Linked DNA regions of Homo sapiens: regions 1, 2, 3, 4, 5 and 6 are each linked to region 7. Evidence: promoter capture Hi-C in 16 types of primary human blood cells and fetal thymus (Javierre and others, 2016). All regions are on one chromosome and are shown on one strand. Each heading gives the region's core, a stretch centred on a gene start or on the middle of the fragment in contact. The rest is flanking DNA. Distances are from core to core; before and after follow the strand shown. Region 1 overlaps FYCO1 (FYVE and coiled-coil domain autophagy adaptor 1). Region 2 has its middle 26 kb from the start of CCR9. Region 3 overlaps FYCO1 (FYVE and coiled-coil domain autophagy adaptor 1). Region 4 has its middle 37 kb from the start of XCR1. Region 5 overlaps FYCO1 (FYVE and coiled-coil domain autophagy adaptor 1). Region 6 has its middle 89 kb from the start of XCR1. Region 7 holds the start of CCRL2 (C-C motif chemokine receptor like 2).

The links. Contacts are between HindIII fragments. The CHiCAGO score rates a contact against its expected background, and 5 or more counts as called.
Region 1: a fragment that was not itself captured here is called in contact with the fragment with the promoter of CCRL2 in region 7 in 1 of 17 cell types (monocytes); the score reaches 5.1 in monocytes.
Region 2: a fragment that was not itself captured here is called in contact with the fragment with the promoter of CCRL2 in region 7 in 1 of 17 cell types (neutrophils); the score reaches 6.1 in neutrophils.
Region 3: a fragment that was not itself captured here is called in contact with the fragment with the promoter of CCRL2 in region 7 in 7 of 17 cell types (neutrophils, monocytes, M2 macrophages and 4 more); the score reaches 12.0 in neutrophils.
Region 4: a contact is called between a fragment that was not itself captured here and the fragment with the promoter of CCRL2 in region 7, in 1 of 17 cell types (neutrophils). The highest score is 5.8, in neutrophils.
Region 5: a fragment that was not itself captured here is called in contact with the fragment with the promoter of CCRL2 in region 7 in 1 of 17 cell types (megakaryocytes); the score reaches 5.2 in megakaryocytes.
Region 6: a fragment that was not itself captured here is called in contact with the fragment with the promoter of CCRL2 in region 7 in 1 of 17 cell types (M0 macrophages); the score reaches 5.4 in M0 macrophages.

The regions. Positions count from the first base shown.
Region 1 is chr3:45,965,342-45,968,268 of GRCh38, forward strand. It overlaps FYCO1 (FYVE and coiled-coil domain autophagy adaptor 1), which reads right to left. Exons shown (of 18, transcript NM_024513.4): 8 at 936-2,927. Among named protein-coding and RNA genes, the nearest start is that of CXCR6, 23 kb to the left of the region's middle. RefSeq lists an enhancer at 2,334-2,927. The HindIII fragment of the contact is 2,826 bases long and covers 1-2,772 here.
Region 2 is chr3:45,910,633-45,913,514 of GRCh38, forward strand. It overlaps a transcript of LZTFL1 not described here. Among named protein-coding and RNA genes, the nearest start is that of CCR9, 26 kb to the left of the region's middle. The HindIII fragment of the contact is 2,041 bases long and covers 319-2,359 here.
Region 3 is chr3:45,932,113-45,935,403 of GRCh38, forward strand. All of the region lies in intron 15 of FYCO1 (FYVE and coiled-coil domain autophagy adaptor 1), which reads right to left. Among named protein-coding and RNA genes, the nearest start is that of CXCR6, 9.7 kb to the right of the region's middle. The HindIII fragment of the contact is 3,840 bases long and covers 1-3,291 here.
Region 4 is chr3:46,063,128-46,066,308 of GRCh38, forward strand. It overlaps a transcript of XCR1 not described here. Among named protein-coding and RNA genes, the nearest start is that of XCR1, 37 kb to the left of the region's middle. The HindIII fragment of the contact is 2,939 bases long and covers 1-2,755 here.
Region 5 is chr3:45,981,752-45,984,736 of GRCh38, forward strand. All of the region lies in intron 2 of FYCO1 (FYVE and coiled-coil domain autophagy adaptor 1), which reads right to left. Among named protein-coding and RNA genes, the nearest start is that of FYCO1, 13 kb to the right of the region's middle. The HindIII fragment of the contact is 2,652 bases long and covers 267-2,918 here.
Region 6 is chr3:46,115,281-46,118,370 of GRCh38, forward strand. No RefSeq gene overlaps it. Among named protein-coding and RNA genes, the nearest start is that of XCR1, 89 kb to the left of the region's middle. The HindIII fragment of the contact is 2,088 bases long and covers 254-2,341 here.
Region 7 is chr3:46,405,723-46,408,692 of GRCh38, forward strand. It overlaps CCRL2 (C-C motif chemokine receptor like 2), which reads left to right and starts at 1,537. Exons shown (of 2, transcript NM_003965.5): 1 at 1,537-1,780; 2 at 2,346-2,970. The coding sequence starts at 2,358. CCR5AS (CCR5 antisense RNA) reads right to left here and starts at 1,344. Exons shown (of 4, transcript NR_125406.2): 1 at 1,175-1,344. The HindIII fragment of the contact is 3,797 bases long and covers 1-2,970 here.

The DNA.
Region 1 (2,927 bases), core at 110-2,609, 440 kb before region 7:
GCAAGGGAAAAAGTTGGCTATAAGCCACATGGAGTTTCACGGAGTGGGGTGGCACTGGGTGGGGAGGCACATCTGTGGCACTGCGGTGGAGCTGCCTCAGAGAGGAGGGTTAGGAGTAGCCTGAGAGTGCACAGACCTTGATGCAGACAGACTAGTGGCAAGCCCTGGAAACCAAAGCCCCAGGCCATTCTGCGCTGTCTTCACTCTAGACAGTCCTTAACCCCTCATCTTTGTGTACTATCAAAGGCACATAGTAACTGCTCATCTCATTAACTTGTCTGTCCCAAGGGCCTTGTAAAAATGAAGTGAGCTTGTTCCCTTCCCTGTATCTGCTGTCAGGAGAGCACCTGATGGGGTTGGTTATTCATTAAGAACTCAGAGATAGGACATGAGGCAGCTGTGAACTGCTGGCCCTCTGCAGGGGTTTTAGAGGCCAAGTCAGGGCTCTCACACTCACATGCCCGGCGGGGCTGGGCAAGTACAGAAACCAGTGTAAGGAAAAGTGCAGAGGATGTGTGCCTCCTTTAAAGTGGGCAGACACCCTCAGGTTCCTGCTGACTGCTGCCACAGGGCGGGGGCAAGGTGAGGACGCAGGCTTTCAAAAGCCCTCAAACTATATTTGTAAACACCCTGCTCTTTCAATGTTGGCTACTAGTTTTACAAACTTCTGTGTGGGCTAATCTTGTTTGCAATGGTCTTGAGTTTAAACTTCTGGGCTAAGGCATCACTCCCAATGTTCTGCGCCTAACATATTCCTGCAGAGAGAAAGATGCTACTGGGAGCTGTGATAGGAAAGGGCCACAAGGTGTTTGCCTGCACCCACAGTACATTCTCCAGCCCTCACCTGCCTCATGGCTAAAGGTGCATCTTCCCATGGACCCACCAGGCCTGCCCAGGGAGAGGGGTAGAGCCCAAGTGGTTGAAGCTAGGATTACCTTAAGTCTGCTCTGGTAGTCCATGATTTCAGCACTCAGCTGGAACTTGAGGGTGTTGAGCTCCTGGTGTGCAGCCTCTTGGAGGCTCTGGGCCCGCTGCTCTGCCTGGGCGAGCTGGGCCTGCAGGCCAGGCAGTGAGCCGGCTGCTGCCTTGGCCGCCTTCAGCTTCTCCTGCAAGCTCTCCTTCTCTTGCTGCAGCCCAGCTACTTGGCGCTCCAGGCCCTCTCGCTCCCTTGAGGCTGCCTCTTTGGCGTCCTGGAGCTCCTGGACAGCACAGGCCAGTGCCTCCTCCACTCGCTCCTTTTCCACGGTCAGTGCGCAAACCTGGATGCCCAGCTCAGCTGTGTCTGTGTTGGCCCGGTGCAGCTGCTCTTGCAGCTCAGCGTGCTCCAGCTGTGCTTCCTCGGAGCTGCATTTGGCCTGGGACAGCTCCTCCTGCAGGGCCCGCAGCTCCTCCTCCCTCTGCTGGGCCTCATCGGCCCTCTCCTCCTGCAGTGCCCCTTCACGCTCCGAGCATTGCAGCAGCTCCTGGACATGGGCTCTGTTAAGGGCTTCATTCTGCTCCTTCAGCTGCTGCACAAGGGTTTTGTGCTCCCTCAGGACGGCCTCAGCCATGCTTAGCTGGCTCTGCACCTTGTCCTGGTCATCCAGGGCTGCCCGCATCTTGGCCTGGAGGTCCACCACCTGAGCCTGCAGCCGTTGGACCTCCCCCTGATGGACTTCCAGCTGCGCCTGAGACAGGGCTAGCTGGGCAGCCAGCTCACGGGCTTCATTGTCAGTGGGTGGGCCAACTCCCTGTTGGCCTTTCTCTGCTGTGAGGACCTCAATCAGCTGGGTCTGCTGCTGGCACTGGCTCTCGAGAGCCCTAAGCTCTCTGTGCCGGGCTTCTGCCAGTTGCTGGCACTGCTCCACCTCCTCCCGCAGCTGCTGACACTCGCCCTCCTTGCTCTGTAGAATGGCCTCCTTCTCTGCCATCTGGGCTTTCATGGCCTCCTTGGCCTTCCTTACAGCCAGCAAGCTCGCCTCCATCTGGTCACCCAAGTGCCGGATGCTGGCCTGCTCGGCCTCCAGGGAGGCCAAGGAGCCCTGGATGGCTGATTCCCGCTGCTGCAAAGCCTGGTAATCGGCCTGCAGGGCTTGCAGCTTGCCCTCCAGGAGCTGGTTACGCCCGACCACATTCTGTAGCTCCTTCTCCAGCTCCCTGTTGGCCTGCCGGAGCTCTTCCTCCTGGCTGCCCTCTTGCACCTTGGTATCGTCTAACTGTGCCTCCTGCAGGCCCCTCTGCTCCTCCTCTGGCTTCCCCCAGGCCTCTTGCAGACTGGAGTTCACAGGGACCAGGGCCTCATTCTTCTCACCTGCCACTGGCAGTTCTGGGCCAGGCGGCCCAGCAAGCCGCTCGAGCATACCCACCTGCTGGCTGAGGTGGTCTTTGTCCTGAATGAGCTGCTTCTTCTGCTCCTCCAGGTCACTCACATGTTGGCTCACCTGTGCCAGCTGGGTCTCCAGGAACTGCAGCTGCCGGGTCAGAGACCTGACCTCCTGCTCCAGCAGCTCCTTCTCCTCCTGTTGCTGTTTTTTCTCCCGCCTCAACTCTGCTAGCTCCTCCTCCCAGGAGCTCGTGTGGGCCAGCAACTCCTGCAGCCGTCGCCAGAGCTGGTCTGCCTCCTGTCCCTTCCCAGACAACTCCTCCTGGAGTGGGGCCATCTCCTTCACCAGGCGCTCCAGGCTGGCCCGGGCATCCTCTTTCAGCTGAAGCTCCTTGACCAGCTGTTCCAGTTGGGCACTCTGCTGTCTGTTGACCTCCTCGACCTTGGTTCTCTCCCTTTCTAGGGCTTGAAGCTTCTCCCCTAGCTCCTGCATCTCCTGGGCCGCATCACTGGGAATAGGTTCTTGCCGGCCCTTTGTGTCTGATGCCGTATCTGCCTTCTGCTGAGCCATGGCTAGCCAGCCTGGGAAGCTGGCTAAATGCTGGTTTTTCTTGTCCAGTGAGTC
Region 2 (2,882 bases), core at 89-2,588, 500 kb before region 7:
TCAGGTTTGCTATGATAAAGTATCAGGAGTAATCCAATAAAACAACAAAAAAATGTAAATGGATCTCTTTTGGGTTCATTTGCAATTAAATGAAAGAAGTGATTCTAAGAACCTTGCTTGTATTCAATTCAGCTGTGTCCTGGTAACTGTTGCCACAAAATTTAGTGGTATAAAAACAATAACCATTTTATTTTATTCGCCATTTTGTGAGCCGGGAATTTGGAAGGGGCTCAGCAGGGCATATTTAGCTTGGGGTCTCTCATGTGGCTGCAGTTAGATATTGGCTGGGGCTGTGGCCACTGGAAAGCTTAACTGGAAAGCTTAACTACTGGCTTAGGGCCAGTAGTTGATGCTGGCTGCCATGCAGGGCCCCAGCACACGGCAGCTTCAGCAGGGAGGGCTCAAGGTACTCAGACCTTTTACATGGCAGCTGGCTTCCCCTGTGCAAGAGAACCAAGGGGAAGTTGCAGGTCCTTTTCTGACATGGCACCGGAAGCCACACAGTGTCCCTCTGCTCTTCCACTGGTCAGAGCAGCCAGAGGCCAGCCCGGAGTCAAGGGACTCGAGACTCCACCTCTTATTGGAAGGGTGTCAAATAACTCTAGGGCCATATTTTAAAATCACCAAAGGTGGCTACTCTGTAAATTAACTCATCTTTCAATGATCCCAATCACTCGGTCCCCCAACTTGACTAGCTGACTAATGCCCAGAAGTAATCAAAAGAGCCAAGAGAGTAAAAGGGATTGGACAAGGTGTGGATGTCTTTCTCAATGATAACAGCTATCACATTTTGAGGCACAGAGTAGCTAAGTGACTTGTCCCAAGCCAGAGGAAGTAGGTAGTGGCACTAGGAGTTGGATCCACGTCTTTCTGATTCTAGAACCCAATCTCTTAGAGGCTGTTGTACTTTCTCCCCAGTTGAAGTTCAAGCACTGATGTTCCAGTGGTCAGTTTGCACCATATGATCTGGATATAGCTCTTCTCACAAAGGCCCTGAGTCAGGAGGACAGGGGGCCCTAGCTGGGCCAGCCCCTAGGCAGGGGAAGAGGAACTCTGGCCATATTGTGGCTTCCTCCCAGGCCCTCCCCGCTCATGGCTTTATGCCGTTCAGCTTTGCTGGTAAGTAGGTCACCCCTTTGGTGAATGCAGAAAGACATCAACAACTGTGTAATGACTCCAGCATATAGGAATTGGGCATTTGGTTTTTTACTGGGAATTTGAGATGGCCGTAAGATGATGTGAATGTCTTTTTAGAAATTAGTTTTCGCATTTTAAAAGTTAAACTGGCACCTACTAAAAATACTTCAAACGACATAGAAAAGTATAAAGAGAAAAGTAAAAGCATCTTATTCCTGCCACCAACTCCAAAGCCCCACCAGCTCCATCTGCCAAGGCAGCCACTGCTGTGTCCAGCGTCTTTGTCAGGAAATGTCGCATGGGTGTGAATAGTGTTCGTCACATAGTCTCCCAGGGTGCCGTCATATACTGCTTCAATCCAACCCACTTTGAACAAATCCTTTCCTGTTTTTTGCTATCACAGACATTGTGGCCATGAAGATTGTTGCGTGTGTTTTTGCGTACTTGTATGAGTGTATCTGGAGGAGAAGGTGGGTGTTTTACTGAAGATGAAAATTGAGGTGGAAATATGTGCAAGAAGGGAAGATTATAGACTCTTTGGTAGAAATATTACAAAAATGGTCCCAATTCTCTACCCCTCACTGTCCCTGTGCCCTTTATAAAGTGACTTTGCAGTTCCTCCCATCCAGAGGAGTCCCTTTTCCCACACCTGGAATCTGGGCTGGCCTGTGACTTGCTCTGACCAACAGAACACTGTTGAAATGATGTGCCAGGTCTGAGACTGGGCTTTGCGAAGCTCGGGCACTTTTACTCACTCTCTTGGAAACCTGCTCAGTGGCCATCTGAATAAGCCCAGGCTATCCTGTTGGGGTCAGGGAGACCACATGGAGTACAGCCAAGTTGTCTGGCCAAGACCATCCTAGCCTAGCCAGCCTTTCTTTGACCAACTGACCACAGATGTAGGAGTCAACCCCAGCCACGATTAGCCAATGAGCAGCCAACCCTCAGACATGTGGGAGCACAGCCTCAATGCGTAGCTGACCACGGGCAGACAAGGGAGTGAGCCCACCAAGAGTCCAGAGCCCCCAGTCAACCTGCATATTCGTGAGCAAAATAAATCTTCAGTGATTTAAGCCACGGTTTTGAGGTTATCCAACTTCAAATAACGCAGAATAATGCAGCTTGGTCTGACAACAGGTAACTGATACAGCCTTTTGTATTAACAATCATAATAAAGGTCTGAAGGTCAAGGGCTGCCATAGCAAATCCTGGTTTATGGAAAAGCTTTTTATAAGTCATCAGATAATCTAAATTCAAGTAAAATGAGAATGGTTTAGAGAAAACCACTCCTACAGCTGTCTCAGCATAACGCAGTAGCAGTAATATGTTCTGTAAATGGTTCAGACTTACCATCTTCCCTGGGTCTTGGTTCCTCATCTGTAAAAGTGGGCTGACTTACAGCAAGAGCCTAGAAAATTATACAATTACACAAATTAAACAATGCTACTATTGTTACTATTAACAAACCAGTGCTGCAATGAGCTGATCTTTCTCTTGTTTTTCATGAGGACCTGCCACAACCTAAAGATCCTTAACTTTTTTTTTTTTTTGGCCTCATCCACACCTTTGACAATCTGACAAAGCCTATAGCCCCTTTCTCAGAATGCTTTAAAATGCAAACAATAAAATAGAATTACAAACCAATTAAATTGAAACACAATTCTCCAAATATTAAAGCAGATATATGAACTAGTAATATATGTGTCTTTTTACTAATGCATTACATAAAATCTATCAGATCTAAT
Region 3 (3,291 bases), core at 486-2,985, 470 kb before region 7:
AGGACTGCTGCAAGGACTAGATTACAAGATGAACCCAGGGAGCTTGCTCCTCAGGGCCCCTTCCAGGCCGAGTGGCACCACTCCTACACTGTGCAACTCTGGAGGCAGCTAGGTTAGCTCATGATCATGGAGACAGAGCCTCCAGTGCAGAGCTGCAACTTAGGAGCAGTGTGGCCTTGGGTGAGTCACTCACTCACTTTGAACCTCGGTTTCTCAACTGTGAAATGGGAAGGTGGCGGCCATCATAGGCCACGCCCTGTGCTCAACAATTTTGCATGTTACTGCAATGGCTCCTTGAGGAAGGCATGACTGTTGCCATTCTACAAAAGAGGAAACTAAGATTCTAAAAGATTGAGAAATTCAATCCAGGCTCACACAGGTCTGAGGCAAAGCCATCATCTTCCTACCATACCAAACTGCCTTTTGTGGAGAAAATGTATTACTATCCCCTTTAACACAGGGGAGGGAATTAACTTCAAAGAGGTTAGGTAACTTGCCCAACACTGCGCAGCAAGTGGTGGTGCTGAGCGTTCATCTGCCTCCAAAGCTGTGGAGATGAATGGACAGACTCCCCAAAGCTAATGAGAACGGTAAGAAATGATTAAAAAACCAGGATGCTTTAAAGAACAGCTCCAATACTCACCTTTGTGAGAATTCAATTCAATGCGATACTTCTCCATGTGTTAAATTTTATTTCTAATTAAGAACCCTCGACCAACATTTACAATTTTCAAGAATCTGAGGGCAGGTTTGGGGGGTCCATTCTGGAACAGACATCTTTCTTGTAATGTGGAAATCTTACCATATTACCATGTAAAAAGTCACTTACCCTGACATAATGCCCCATTAATACATTAATGCTGGAGCATTTTATAATTTTATGCTCCAGAATTCTCCCCTGGCACCCAGGTATTTGGATTGTGCCTCAATCATCTAGTCTAGACATCATCTAGACATCATCTATTCAGTGACAAGGACAATACTCAGCCTCTCCAAAGCAGATCTTAACAAAAACAAATCAAAGGTTTGCTCAAATATAATATAATCTTAAGATGCCTATTGTCTATAAGGCTCATGTCACAGATGTGAATTCCACTGAGTGACCTAAGAAATTTCAGTTTACATGAGTCAAGGGGTACCAACACATTTGCAGTGTTCTGAGATAATCCCAACCTTTAACATGTTTTCAGATGCTCTCATGATGTTGTTGCTAATCCTTAGCTTGCTGTCACTCTCTTTGAAAGAGGCAGAAAAAAATAACTTTCAAGGTGTTGTCATTCTCCTTGCATTTTATTCCCATGTCCAGCCGACCTATTCTCCATACTGTCTTATTCTCCTCAAAGACCTGCCTTGGATCTGTGTGGTCTAGTTATTTCTAAATCTCATAACTTTCCTCATTCCTTTACTTGAGGGTAGGTTTTTTACCAGTTTTATTATAAATGATTTCAAACATTTCCCTGTTCTTTCCCATTAAATGCCACTAAAAAAACTGAAAATGATTCAGCAGTTGTAGTAAAAGTGAAGGGCAGGAGAAGGAAGGCGGACTGATTAAGGACCCCCAGAATATGAGGAAAATCACAACAGCTTAGCGTCTCTGAGCCCCCCACCTACACATAATAAAAAACCACTCGTTATCCTAAGAGCCAGGAAAATCACAGTGTGCATGAGGAAAGACAATCAACAGAAGCCGACACTGACATCAACCAGATGCTGGAGTTATCTGTCAAGGCTTTTAAAGCAGCCATCAAAAAAAATGCTTCAGTAACAATTTTAAATGTTCTTGAAACAATAAAACAGTGGAAAACTCATACCAAAGAAACAGAAGATATAAAAAAGTACCAAATGGAAATTTTAGAACTAAATAATTACAATAACCAAAATAAAAAAAAAATCACTGGACACTCAATAGCTGAATAAAGATGACAGTTATACTTGAAGAGAGAAAAACAGAAATTCCTCAATCTGAACAACACAGGGAAAAGAGAATTGGGGGACAGGGTGCAAGGAAAAAGAACAGAGCCTGAGGAATCTACAAGGCAAGGACAAAAGATCTCACATTTGTATCACTGGAGTCCCAAATGGAGAGGGAAAATAGAGTGCATCTGAAAAAATGTTCAAAGAAATGATGGTTATAAACTTCCCAAATATGATGACAGATAAGCCTAGAGATTTAAGAGCTGAGTGTACCCCAAATAGGAAAAACCCAAAGAAATTCATGCCAAGACCCATCATAATTAAACGTCTAAGAACAAAAGACAAAGAAAAAACTTGAAAGCAGGCAGAGAGGAATAACTTATTATCTATGGGGGAATACCAATTTGAATGCCAGGGGATTTCTCATCTAAAACCATGGAGGCCAGAGGGAAGTAGCAGCACACATATTTCAAATGCTGAAAGAAAAGAACTTTCAATTCTATATCTGGCAAACATCCTTTAGATATTCTGTCAAATCCAGCAGTGTGTGAAAAGAATTATATACCACAGCCAGTGGGATTTATCCCAGGTATGCAAGGCTGGTTTGATATATGAAAGTCAATCAATGCAATCCATCATATCAACAGGCTAAGGAAGAAAAAGCCTATGATCTTATCAATTGATGTAGAAAAAAGATCTGGCAAAATTCAACAGCCATTCACGACCACCCAAGTTCTCTGTTACTATTTCTAATTGTCACTGCTGTGAGTAGCATGCAAGGGACATTTTGGTAGCTTTATCTTTGCACCTCCAGTCATTATTTCCTCAGGATAAATTCCCAGACACAGGCCCATTGCATCAAAGAGAAAATGCAATTCTTGAACTTTTGGTACATTCTGCAGCCAAGTTGCTCTCCAGAAAGGGTGGCCCTGACACTTCATACTCCCCCAGCATCAACAGCTTGTGAGTGGGCTAGCTATTTAATTCTTCCTGCTTGGTCTGCCCCATAATTCAATATAGTGTTTGTCCAAGTGTGGTCCAAGGTCACCTGAGGACTGGTGGAATAGATTATTCTCTCACGACCACATCTAAACCTTCAGGAAATTCTGTCTGCACCACCTTCAAAATAGGTCCAGAATTTGCCCTGGTCTCTGCCCTCTCTGCCAACACTTGGTCCAAGGAACAAGGATTCCTCTAATACCCTCCCAACTGGTCTCCCCACTTTGGCTCTCATCCTCCATCATCTATTCTCTACATGGCAATCAGAACAATCCTTTTTCAACTGTAAATTAGATTAAGTCACTCTTAATGCTACACACCTCATTTTGGGGGTCCCATTTCCCTCAGATTCAAAGTCAAAGTCCTTACAATGGCCAA
Region 4 (3,181 bases), core at 36-2,535, 340 kb before region 7:
TCATTCAGGGTCCCAGTAGGAATCAAGTGGCTCTCTCAAAAAGGTAATTGATGACAATTCAAGGAAGAGACCATTTACAAAGGTGTGGCAGGATATAGGGAATGCAAGAAGGGATGGTAAAGTATCCCTGATCTAACAATAGTGGGAAGCTGCTACTAATCCTAGGCCTGAGCACATAGGAGAAAGAGCCATTGGAGAACCTAGTAAGACCTAAAGCCTTAGGAGAGGGCTGCTTGGCAGGGCACACAGCCGTGGGCAGAGGAACATGGTTACTTTCACCCCAGTCCAGCAGAGACGAAACCAGAAAAATACATACTCCACTTTCTTTTTCCCCCGACCCCTGAGTTCCCCTGTCTAAACTCCTGCTGGTGCCTCCACTGTCGCCAACCAGGAGAAAAGGGAACTGTGGGTGCAGCTCATACACATCAGTCCTCAGAAGCACAAGGCAGGTGGAAAAGGTGGAAGGTGGATCTACATGAACACCCAAGGGCAGAGCCTCGGGTGATCTGTCCTTATGCCACCTGCCCAGCCTAACTCGATGCCCACTGCCCTTGCCCACTGCACTGTGGGGCACACACTGTTTCCTCTGCCTGAAAACTCTCTCACGTCCCCCTTCCCCTAGTTCATTACTTCTCATCTTTGGCTTAAATGTTAACCTCCTAAACATGTAATCCTCTTTGTTGATTGTACCCTTTGGCACACTGTTGTTTATCTGCTTATGGCAAATCTTTTTTCCCAATGGTTATTACTAATATTTTTTGAGACAGGGCCTCGCTCTGCCACCCAGGCTGGAGTGCAGAGGTGCAATTATGGCTCACTACAGCCTTGACCTCCTCCCAGGCTTGAGCAATCCTCCCACCTCAACCTCCCTAGTAGCTGGGACTAAAGGTGGATGTTACCATGCCAGGATAATTTTTTTATTTTTAGTAGAGACAAAGTCTTGCTGTGTTGCCCATCCTGGTCTCAAACTCCTGGCCTCAAGTGATCCTCCCACCTTGGCCTCCCAAAGTGCTGGGATTACATGTGTAAGCCAATGTGTCTGGCCCCTAATGATTATTTAACAATAATAATACCAGTATTCAACATTGACTGAACACATATCATGTGCCAGGCACTGCGTAATTATTTGTTAGACTCTTTTAGACTACAGTCTCCATAAGGGCAGGGATCATGTCTCTGTATTGTTCATTGGTCTGTCTCTCCAGTGCCTAGGGCAGTAGCTGGCACATACCAGGAACTCAACAAACATGTATGGAGTAAAAAAATCCCACAATGAGCCTTGCAAGTTTTTCCTAGCTCTCTTGTATCATGGGAGGTTAAATATGGCTGCAAATTCTTTACTGCTCCTCCCACTGAGAGATGAAGTCCAATTCCACTCCCTTGAAATCCCTCATTGACTTGCTTGACTGATAGAATGTGGCTGGAGTGACATTCTTGGACTTGTAGCTCATAAGAAGCCTTGCAGCTTCCACCTGGGTCTCTTGGAACATTCTCACTTGGTGCTCTGACCACCACTTTCGAAGTGCGACACATGAAGCCACCATGCTGGTGAGGCCACATGCAGGAATGGTAGATGGTTCCAGCTGCGCCTAGCTCTCCAGCCTTCTCTGCTCAGCCCCAGGTATCCACCAGCTCAACAGCACCAAGGGACCCCCACTGATGCCACTTGGAAGAGTTACCCAGGGCGGGTGCAGTGGCTCACGCCTGTAATCCCAGCACTGTGGGAGGCTGAGGTGGGTGGATCACCTGAGGTTGGGAGTTCAAGAACAGCCTGACCAACATGGAGAAACCCCGTCTCTACTAAAAATACAAGATTAGCCGGGTGTGGTGGCGCATGCCTGTAATCCCAGCTACTCGGGAGGCTGAGGCAGGAGAATTGCTTGAACCAGCAAGGTGCAGGTTGTGGTGAGCCAAGATCCCGCCATTGCACTCCAGCCTGGGCAACAAGAGAAAAACCCTGTCTCAAAAAAATAAAGAAATAAAAAAAAAGGAAAAAAAAATAGAGTTACCCAGCCAAGCTCTACTCAACTTTCTGGGTCACAAAATTATAAGATCTAATAAAATGGTTCTTTTAAGCCTCTACATTTTGGGGCACTTTGTTATGTAGCAATAGTCAAAACAAGTAATATTGGTTAGGGGAAAATCCCCAACCTGCTTTTCCTTCCCACCTTCACCCATCCCGCACTTTCAGGCTCCCCTTAGGGACTGTTACCTGCAGGAGTCTTGCTAGCTTTCTAGCAACTTAACTTTGATGTGGCTTTAAGAGAGGTGCCTGAGCTTCCATTTGCCACACTCTGGGGAATCCCCCAAATGCTAACCTGTCCACTCTACAACAAGCTCCGGCAGCTGAGCTGTTCTGGGCCACCTGCCAAATATCATATGATACTCCCTTGATGTCGGGTGACAGTAAAATTCACCGACTCCTGGGTGGAGGCCCTTTTCTTTGAAGCCTGCTCTGCTCACCCAACCACACACAGCCCACTTACACGGCATCACCAATTAGAGTTGGGGAAATGCAGGTGGTGGCCCCGGGCTACACCAAGCTCCACTGCTGCCTTGCTCTCTGGGTCAGATCTGTCTCAAGCAGAGCAAATTACTGCTGGAATCACCAGGGCTGTGAGGAGCTTCAGAGAATGACCAAGGTTAGCACTTAGAGGACTGAGCCCTGGGCGGTGTGCTCTAAATGTGTGTAGGGTCCTAGATGAAGGCTTTTGGATATTTCTGGTAGCACCAAAGACTAAACAGGCATTTGAGAAGCTTGAGGCGTCTTTGCCTGCTCCAGGGCCTCCGGAAGAGGCCACGTAGGGATGTCCCTGGGGCATTTGCTAACTCATTCTCAGAGGAAGATCCGAGGAAAATATATTCACTCCCTTGTCTCACTCCTTTGCTGCTCAAGCACATAAGGGTGGGTGGAAGGAGGGAGGCTAGCGACAGCATTCCTGGTGGAGGGAGCGAGGGTAGTAAGCACAGAGTGTGTTGTGATGCAGCAAGACAGGCTCACTAGGACCAGACCATGTAGTCTCAGACATACTCCTTGGTGCTCTTGGGCACAGCCTGCCTTCCTTCCTTCCTTCCTCCCTCCCTCCCTCCCTCGCTCTCTCTCTGCTTCTTTTCTTTTCTTTCTTTTTCTTTCTTTTCTTCGGAGTCTCACTCTGTCACCAGGCTGGAGTGCAGCAGTGCA
Region 5 (2,985 bases), core at 343-2,842, 420 kb before region 7:
GCATGAGGAGCAAGTGGTCAGTGATACAAAGCACCTCTGAAACATAAAAGGGTATGTAAGTATCCATGAGATATAACTCCAAGTCAGGGAGTGTTGAAATGTCCTGAGAGCTCACAGATACTTTACAATGCTTGTTGACTGGGCACATTTCTTGTTCACCCTTGTCTGTCCACCACCCAGGGCTAGTAATTTGCATATAGTAGCTGGACAACAAATGTTTGCTGTGTGGATGAATCAATTCAGTCCCTGAATACTGACTTCCAGAAAGCTTTACCTTTATTCTAGCCACATTTCAGGTTCTTCACTATAATCCTACTGCTCATTATAGGTAAGCGCAGGATCAGAATACCCAGTATGTGCAAATAATAGTAGTGACAATCACAATTCCAACAATGACAACCGCACCTGCTTCTGTTAACTGAGTGTCCTTGAGGGGCTGGGCCTTTACATGTATTTTTCTCATTTAATATGGCATTGAGAGGCAGGGATTGCCTTATTTCGATGAATCTAAGATACAATTAATTATAATATACATTACAGTTTCAGAGCTGTTAAAATGTCAAAAAAAAAAGTACAATTTAGAATCTATGAAGTCTGCTATGATTATCCCCATTTTGCAGATGAGGAGTGTACAGAGAAATCAGAGCACTTGGCCAAAGATCATGGGTGGCAAACAGCAGAGCTGGAATAAGAACCCTGGTTTTCTCAAGAGCTGTCTAACTCCAGAGCTCACCTCTTAACTTCTAAGATAATTCACCTCCCTGTGTAGAAAAGAGGAAAACCCACCTTTGACTCTCACTCACTGCCTCTGCTGTGGGACAGAGGGACTATCGAGACACTGGATTTGGTTTAGATCCTGGAAAACCTTTTCCCAGCAGAGATGGTGGGATGTGCTTCACAAAACTATCTGCTTCTCTGGCAATTCTTAAATTCCTAAACCCTGCTCCCAAGAACCATGGTTTGAAGCAGACCTGTCCAGGACTGAAGCCAAGCCTAAGATGGCTGAAAATGTAATCAACACGACCCCTCAGGCAAAGATTAGCAAATGGTGGAGACAGGTTCTTGGGACTGATTCTTACAAGTGACTGTTGTCCACTGTACCTTGCTAGAAGTGTCTGCAATGGCTGGCACTGACAGCCAGTGAGCCAGGGGCCTGGGAGAGACAAAGAGCCTTCCTCCTCCACCCTCCTGCCTCCTCAGGCCAGGTAAACACTCGCAACCTGATCTGGGAACTCCTGAAACTTTGAAGGAGTAGACTCTGGATATGAAATATGAAATTTTCAGCTCTAATCTCTGATATTCTAAGTAATATTAGCTTTGCAGGAATTACTATTTGATTCTTTCAATAATCTTGAGAAGTGGGTGTTATCATCAAACCCACCTGGCACATGAAGGAAGCAACTGTGCGTTGGAAAGGTGAAGGGACTTGTCCAACATTTTCGAGGGTTAAAAGAGAAGCCAGAAGCTGAGCACACCCCTGCCTGACTCCAAAGTCTTTGAAACTGCTGTCACCAAGAGGATAAGTGGGCTGCCCTGCAGAGGAGTGAAGGCTGTGTACCACACAAAGATGCCTCAGTTAAGGACACTCCACTCTCATGGTAGATGCTGTAGATTTGTATGCTTATTAAGACGTTTACCAACAGATGAAAGTGGAGGGTACTGAGAAAGTGGCACCTTTCAAGAATTCCCACCAAAGTGCTCTGTGGCCTATGTAAAGGACATTGAAATCAGCCCAGGATGTTGGGGGTGGCCAGACTCAGCTGGTACATAGGATAGACAATGGTCTAGATCAGAAGCTCTACCTGAGGGTCCCCTATTTCACCCTCTTCCCTCCCAATAAGGACCTCCAGGTCTCAAAGTTATCCTCAAGAACCAGATATTGAAACACAGAAAAGACTATCTACTTTATGGAGAGACCTCTTAAAGCCAGTGGCAAACTCAGATTTGCAGAGACTGGCATTTCACTTTCTCTGCCTCTCTGTGTAGATTTAAAAAAGCATCTAATGTCTTAGCTGAAAGTAGACTAGAGTGGTTAGGAGCATAGACTGGTGCCAGGCTGTTGGTATAGAAAGTGCCCGGTGCACATGAAATGCCATGAAATTGTTAGCTATCAGAGGCCCAAGGCATGGTAGACACAAGATTAAAAGCCTGAGAAAATGTTTTTTATCTTGTTGACTTTGGAACTTCAGAATGAGAACTGCACTGTGGCCATGCTAGGCCAATGGCTCCTGGTATGGGAGATAACTGCTTGTGGTGCCCAAGCAGTTAGAAGCCTGGGCCTTTAGTCTGTCAGAAAAGTGTCACAGCGGACTCTGCAGGCATGGAGGAAGTGGTCAGCTTCAGACTGTGTAGTATCAAGTGTCCTAGAGCTCCGAAGAGCTTAAAGGTCAGCACTGGTGATGAGTGGGGATGGAAAACTTATAAAAACTCTGACCCCTGGGACAGCATCTGAAAGAGTGAAACTTGGAATTTGCAGCCAAAAAGAAAATAGTCCGTTTCTCCTGAGTCTATGAAACTTTATCTGCACCTTCCTCTGCCTTGCTTTTCTCCAGTGAGATAAGGGATACAAGTCATAGCCTCTCTCAGTGGACAACGCTGAGCTCAGGGAAGTCTGGGAGGCAGCAGGACTGGACCTACAGTGCATCCCAGGCAATGGGCCATCCGCCAGCCAGGACCCAGTTGGGCAGCAAAACAAGATAGGTGGGTCTCTGTCCTTCCTGCTCAGTGGGAGAAAGAACATTCTTTTCCAAAGAAGCCAACTTCATCAGAGCCCAGAAGTTTGGGATTTAGCCAAAGACTTAACAGGCAGCTTCAAAACACACATGTGTGCACTAATGGAAATCAGACCCAGTCCTGGAGCCGGGTGTATGATTTTGTTTACAAACTGGCTTTACAGTTCTCTGAAAGGAAACCAGGCAAGCTTTCCAAGCCTTACACAAGGTGGATATTTGAGACCCAAATATTTCAATATGATGTGACCTGAGG
Region 6 (3,090 bases), core at 48-2,547, 290 kb before region 7:
ACTGGCTGGATTCAGGCAAGCATTTGTGGTTACAACCAAATCATCTTTTTCTAGTAATATGGCGTCATATTTTAGAAACTGAGAATCCGTTAACTATCTCCCGGCTTTTCAATTTGATACATTCCTGACCTGGTATGGAATGCTTACTATTAGGGCCCCACCAAAGGTTAGTTTTCAACTCTTTTCTACCAGCAGGGCTGTGGCAGCTACTGCTTGCACACATTCAGGCCACCCCTGAGAGACAGGATTGAGAAGCTTGGAGACAAAAGCAACAGGTTGCCTCTTCCCTCCCCAGATTTGAGTGAGCACTCCAAGGGCCATGCCCTGATCTACTGTGACGAACAGATGGAATAGTTTCTTTAAAGACAGAAGGGCCAGGGCCGGGGCTGTGATGAGGGCCTGCTTTAGCTCTTTTACTGCCTGAATTTCCTTTGGGGACCATTGCAAGGGATTGGGTTCCTCTTTAGTAACTTGAGATACAGAATCTCTGTCTTTTGAGCATATGAGTTCATCCATAACCTACAATAGCCAGTTAAACCTAAAAATTTTTGGAGGTTTCTCTTTGTCTAAGGCAAAGGCAGAGCCACTATCCTCGATATTTTCTTTGGGTTTATTTTCTACTTCCCTTCACTAATCAGGTCTCCTAAATATTTAACTTCTTTTTTTTACAAATGGCAATTTGTTCTTAGAGACTCGTAATCCCCTTTTTCCTAGGAAATTAAGCAAGTTTAGGGTGGTTTTTGATTCCTCGGGCCTCCTCTCCCCAGAAATTAAAAGATTATTTACATGTTGTAACATCTGGGTTCCCTCGGAAGGTTGGAATTCCTTCAGGACTTTTTCTAAGACTTTTTCAATTAAGTTTGAGGCTTCTGTGAAAACTTGTGGCAGCACAGTTTGGTGGTACTGTTGTTTTCTCCCAGTTATAGGAATTTCCCATTCAAAGGCAAAGAGGTCCCTACTCCTAAAGTCTAGGGGAAATGCCCAGAATGTGTCTTTTGGATCCACCACACTGAACCACTTATGTTTATAGGGTATCTTACTAAGGAGGGTGTAGGGTTTAGGCACCCTAGGGTGGTGGGTCTGGACAATTTGATTTACAGCCCTTAGATTTTGCAACAATTTATATGACCCACCAGATATTTTGACTGGGAGAATTGGAATATTGTATGGTGACCTGCAGGGTTCTAATAGTCCATCTTTTATCATTTTATTACTGCTTGGAGACCTTTTCTCCCTTCAATAGAAATGGGATATTGTTTTCTGCAAACTACTTTTCCTGGTTGTTTCTCATTCCATCCATCGATCTTTTGTAATTGTTTTATAATGTTAGGCCAGCTCTTAGTTACAAAGACCTTCAAAAGGCCTTGCCCTAATGGGTCCTCTGGATAGAATCCAGAGTGTTTTCTCATCTGATCTTTGAGCCTCTGTAGGAATGCAGAGGGAGTTTCTTCCTTTTTCTTGTTGAATCTTGAATGCCTTTGAAACATTTTGTGTCCTAGGAGTGGACTCTTTGATCCCTTTAATTATTAGTTCCCTGAAGTCTTGCATTCAGGCCTGGTGCCTGGGATCATTATTATCCCATTCGGGATTGACATTTGGAAATTTTTGTTTGGCTGGCAAGACTTCTTGCCTGGGAGGGTGTTGCCTCTCCCAGTTGGTTATGGTCACTCTCCTAATTATTCCCCTTTCTTCTCCTGTGAACAGGATATTCATAATAGACATCATTTCGGCCCAGGTGTAAAAGCTGGGTCTAGGAATTGGTCCAGCTGGTCTGCTAAACCGAGGGGATCTTCTAGGAGTGGTTTCATTTCCTTCTTGAAATTCCTAACATCAGTACTTATAAGAGGAGGATTTACAAAGCCAAGCTCTCCCAGTCCCATGGAAACTTCCCTAAGAGGGAACATGCTAGATGCTTGCTGTGCGGAAGGGATAGGGAAGTTCTCAGTAGTCCTCTTACACTGTTGTAATTGTTTTCTTAGATTTGGATAAGGATTTAAAGAAGTAGATGGTTTGGCTCCCCCATGGTTTCTAATCTTCCCCTAATCCCTTTGTTGCCCCTTGATCTTCCTGTCCCCTATTTTGTGAGACGTATGGAGGAGGCAAGCATGATAGGGGGGTCCCAGAGCTTTTACTAGGCTCTTTTTCTCCTTTCTTGAGGGGGAACATGGGAACTAATTCCTTGATCTGGCAGACAGCATAACCTATCTCTTCTTGTGAGGATGGGGTTTTATTATTTACATAGAGAATTAAAGCTCAGCACACCCAACACTTGTCTGAACCAAACTTAGGCCAAAAGACTGAAGGATTATGAATGGAGTCTTTGGGCCAGATAAAACAGCAAAGCTTTATTATCTTTTGCTTTTCCTTGTCCCTGGTTCAAGGGTTGTCCCTCAAAACCTGTAGCATTCTCCCCAAAGGACTATCCATGGGAATGTCAGAGGGAGTCTTTAGCTCCCTCTTTCCTTTGTCCCCTAGGCCTAGAATTTCTGTTTCCCATTTTCAGTCAGTCTCTGTGTCTGAGCGTTTCCCTGTGTACTCAACACTCCCTCCTGGAGGTTTCTTGCACACCCTGAGAATTACTTGCAGGAGAACGGAACTGCGGATTGGGACTCTGCACTCGCTTTGTATCTAGGATACATCTCAGTCACACATGCTCAACCTCCGAAAATGTCCAACCACCAAGGCAGTACTTATAGTCCAATTCTCCTACCTTGGCTTGTGCACCAGGTTACCTGGTTGTTGTGGTGCCTGCTTTTTTCCCTGTGTTGCCTCTGTTGCCTCCTGAATAACAGTCTCAGATTTGTCTAAGGCCTCTATGGGGAGCTGGGACACCCGGACAGAGTGGGCCTCCTAAATTGAGTGGGCTGCATCTCCCCTCTTGGCCAGAGTCCCACTCCATGCAAACACAGAGATCCCGGATGGATTCCCAAGTTTGTAAGAAACATATTCTCCCATCCAAACTCAAGGAAGATACTTGGAGATAGGAAGAACAGCAGAAGCGAGACTTTTAATGGCAGTCTTGCAAGATCAGGTGTCTGGTAGGCAGGCATACCCGGGGCAGTTACAGCAGGTAATTTATCTCCTAGCATG
Region 7 (2,970 bases), core at 287-2,786:
ACATCATTGTGTTTCTCTTTCTGCCTTGTCTGTCGGCACACGTGGAGTTAAATTTAATGCTCAATCACATATTTGTCTGGGCTCTTTCTGTGTTTATTTTTCTCTTAATAGTTCTCTCTCCTCCCTTCCTCTCCCCGCCCCTCCTCCTCCTTCTTCTTTTTTTTTTCCAGAGACAGTGTCTCGCTCTGCCACCCAGGCCAGAGTGCAGAGTGGCATGATCATGGCTCACCGCAGCCTCCAACTCCTGGGCTCACGTGAACATCCCACCTTGGCCTCTGGAATGTCTGGGATTACAGGCACTTGCCACTGCATCTGGCTAATTTTTATATTGTTTATAGATCCGGGATCTCACTATGTTGCCCAGGCTGGCCTCAAACTCCTGGGCTCAAGCGACCCTCCCACCTCATACTTCTGAGTAGCTGGGGCTGTAGGAATGCGCCTCAGTGCCAGGCTAGTTTCTTAATTTTCTATTTCTATTTTGACAGGTACAAATTTTGTATTCAATCCTACCTCAGACACATCTTTGGTGGGAAAAGGATGTCATTTAATCAATATATAAATTCTAAGCAAATAGGTCTGATCCCCAAATTAGGTTAGTCACAGCTGCTGAGTCGTTGACCCAAGAGAAGCTCATCTAGATTTTTTCATTATTTTCAAGTTCCTCTTCTCGGTTCGTCCTTCTTCCAGACCGTGCCCTCCCCGTCCCACTCTCTTCCCACAGCCTCCCCTCCCCACAGCCTCCTCCCACCATTCCAAATCTGGGCTGTTCTCTCAATTTCCTTCTCTCTGGACTCAAACCTACCCTAGCCCCCAGCCTCAGTTTGGGGTTAAACTTGTCCTCCTCACATTCTCTCCCACCCAACTTGATGTCGCCTCTGTGTCATCACCACGGGATTTTCCTCCTCTGGGTTCTCCTTTTCCGAGTGGGGTCAGCTCCCCCATGAGTCACAGCACCAATCACTTCTGGCTGCTTGCAAACCCCTTTGCTTTCCTCAGTGTTGACACCCAGGGCAGCCCTATGCTCACTGCCGCTGAGACCCCACCTCTGCCCCTGGCCTTTTCCCAGCTGACATCACCCTGTGGCTTCCATTTTCCTAAAATTCTCTTTTGAGGCCTCAGTCTTAACCAAAGCACACAGTGCCCCTCAAAAATGACAATAAAAACCCAAACACACCGTGACTGTCATGGCAGGTTCCTGGTCCCCGTATTGAATCAGCGGGTGGGTTTCTGCGAACACTGGTGAGAGGCCGCATTAGAGGGTCAGGACCCTCAGGTCTGGACTCGTGGTCACCACATACCTTCCTCCCTGCTGACAGTAGCTGGTACCTGTTACCTACTCAGAGTGTCACATGCCACAAGCCAGAGCGTCTTGGCAGTTCTCAGCACCTTGACATCACTTCCTTGCTACCACTCAGAGCGGCAGTGACACAGTTCCCTTATCTCAGAAGGCCAGAAGACGGCTGTCAAAGGTCACAGGGAAATCAAAGGCGGGGTACAGGGCCAGAGGGAGGAGGAAACAACTTCCCGGTTGCTTTCAGACGCTTCAGAGATCCTCTGGAGGCCTGGGGGAGCTTTTGAGTACTTTATTTCAGTTGGTCCCTGAGCTCGGTGAGTGGGGCGGGTAGAGCCACCAGGGGAATCAACAGTGGTTTCTCGTGCCCCTCAGGGTCAGGAGCAGTCTGATCAAAAGGAGGGCATCCACTGTCCGGGGCCATTCCCACAGCTCCCGGATGCTGGGTCTGGAGGCTGCGCCCTTCCCCTGCAGGAGCTCAGCCCAGTGGTAAGTCATCTGTGTGTCATCTATGTATTTAACCCCTTATGGCCATGTTGATGCTGAGCATGGTTTCACTTTTGCAAACATTTATTTATACCCTTCGAGAGAAAAACGTCTCAGCTGTCACAGGAAGCTGCTTCGGGGGGTGAGCAAACTTTTTAAAATGCAGAAATTATGATCTACACCCGTTTCTTAAAAGTAAGCCATCGTACTTGGTTCTCTTTAATTATATATTTTCTTACATATTGTGTTCATGTAGGCAAGTCCTGTTTCTGCTAAAAGAAGGTAAGTTCTACCAAGGCGGTGTCATGCCAGCTTTATTTCCCGTGGCACCTGGCACACTGCTAAGCACTTACATGCTTAACAACTAGATTGGGAATGGTGCTGCTCTGGGGAAGTGGGCACACGTTAAAGAAATGTTTATTTCAGTCTTCTGAAATAGGGAATTACTCTGGCTAAAATGTAGCTCCAGAAAGGGAAAGTGGGGCTGTATGAATCCAGGTCCAGTTTGTTGTTTCCTCCAGGATAAGGCAGCTGTCGGAGGGGAAAATCATCTCCCATTTCTCCACAGGGCAGTCTGAAGATGGCCAATTACACGCTGGCACCAGAGGATGAATATGATGTCCTCATAGAAGGTGAACTGGAGAGCGATGAGGCAGAGCAATGTGACAAGTATGACGCCCAGGCACTCTCAGCCCAGCTGGTGCCATCACTCTGCTCTGCTGTGTTTGTGATCGGTGTCCTGGACAATCTCCTGGTTGTGCTTATCCTGGTAAAATATAAAGGACTCAAACGCGTGGAAAATATCTATCTTCTAAACTTGGCAGTTTCTAACTTGTGTTTCTTGCTTACCCTGCCCTTCTGGGCTCATGCTGGGGGCGATCCCATGTGTAAAATTCTCATTGGACTGTACTTCGTGGGCCTGTACAGTGAGACATTTTTCAATTGCCTTCTGACTGTGCAAAGGTACCTAGTGTTTTTGCACAAGGGAAACTTTTTCTCAGCCAGGAGGAGGGTGCCCTGTGGCATCATTACAAGTGTCCTGGCATGGGTAACAGCCATTCTGGCCACTTTGCCTGAATTCGTGGTTTATAAACCTCAGATGGAAGACCAGAAATACAAGTGTGCATTTAGCAGAACTCCCTTCCTGCCAGCTGATGAGACATTCTGGAAGCATTTTCTGACTTTAAAAATGA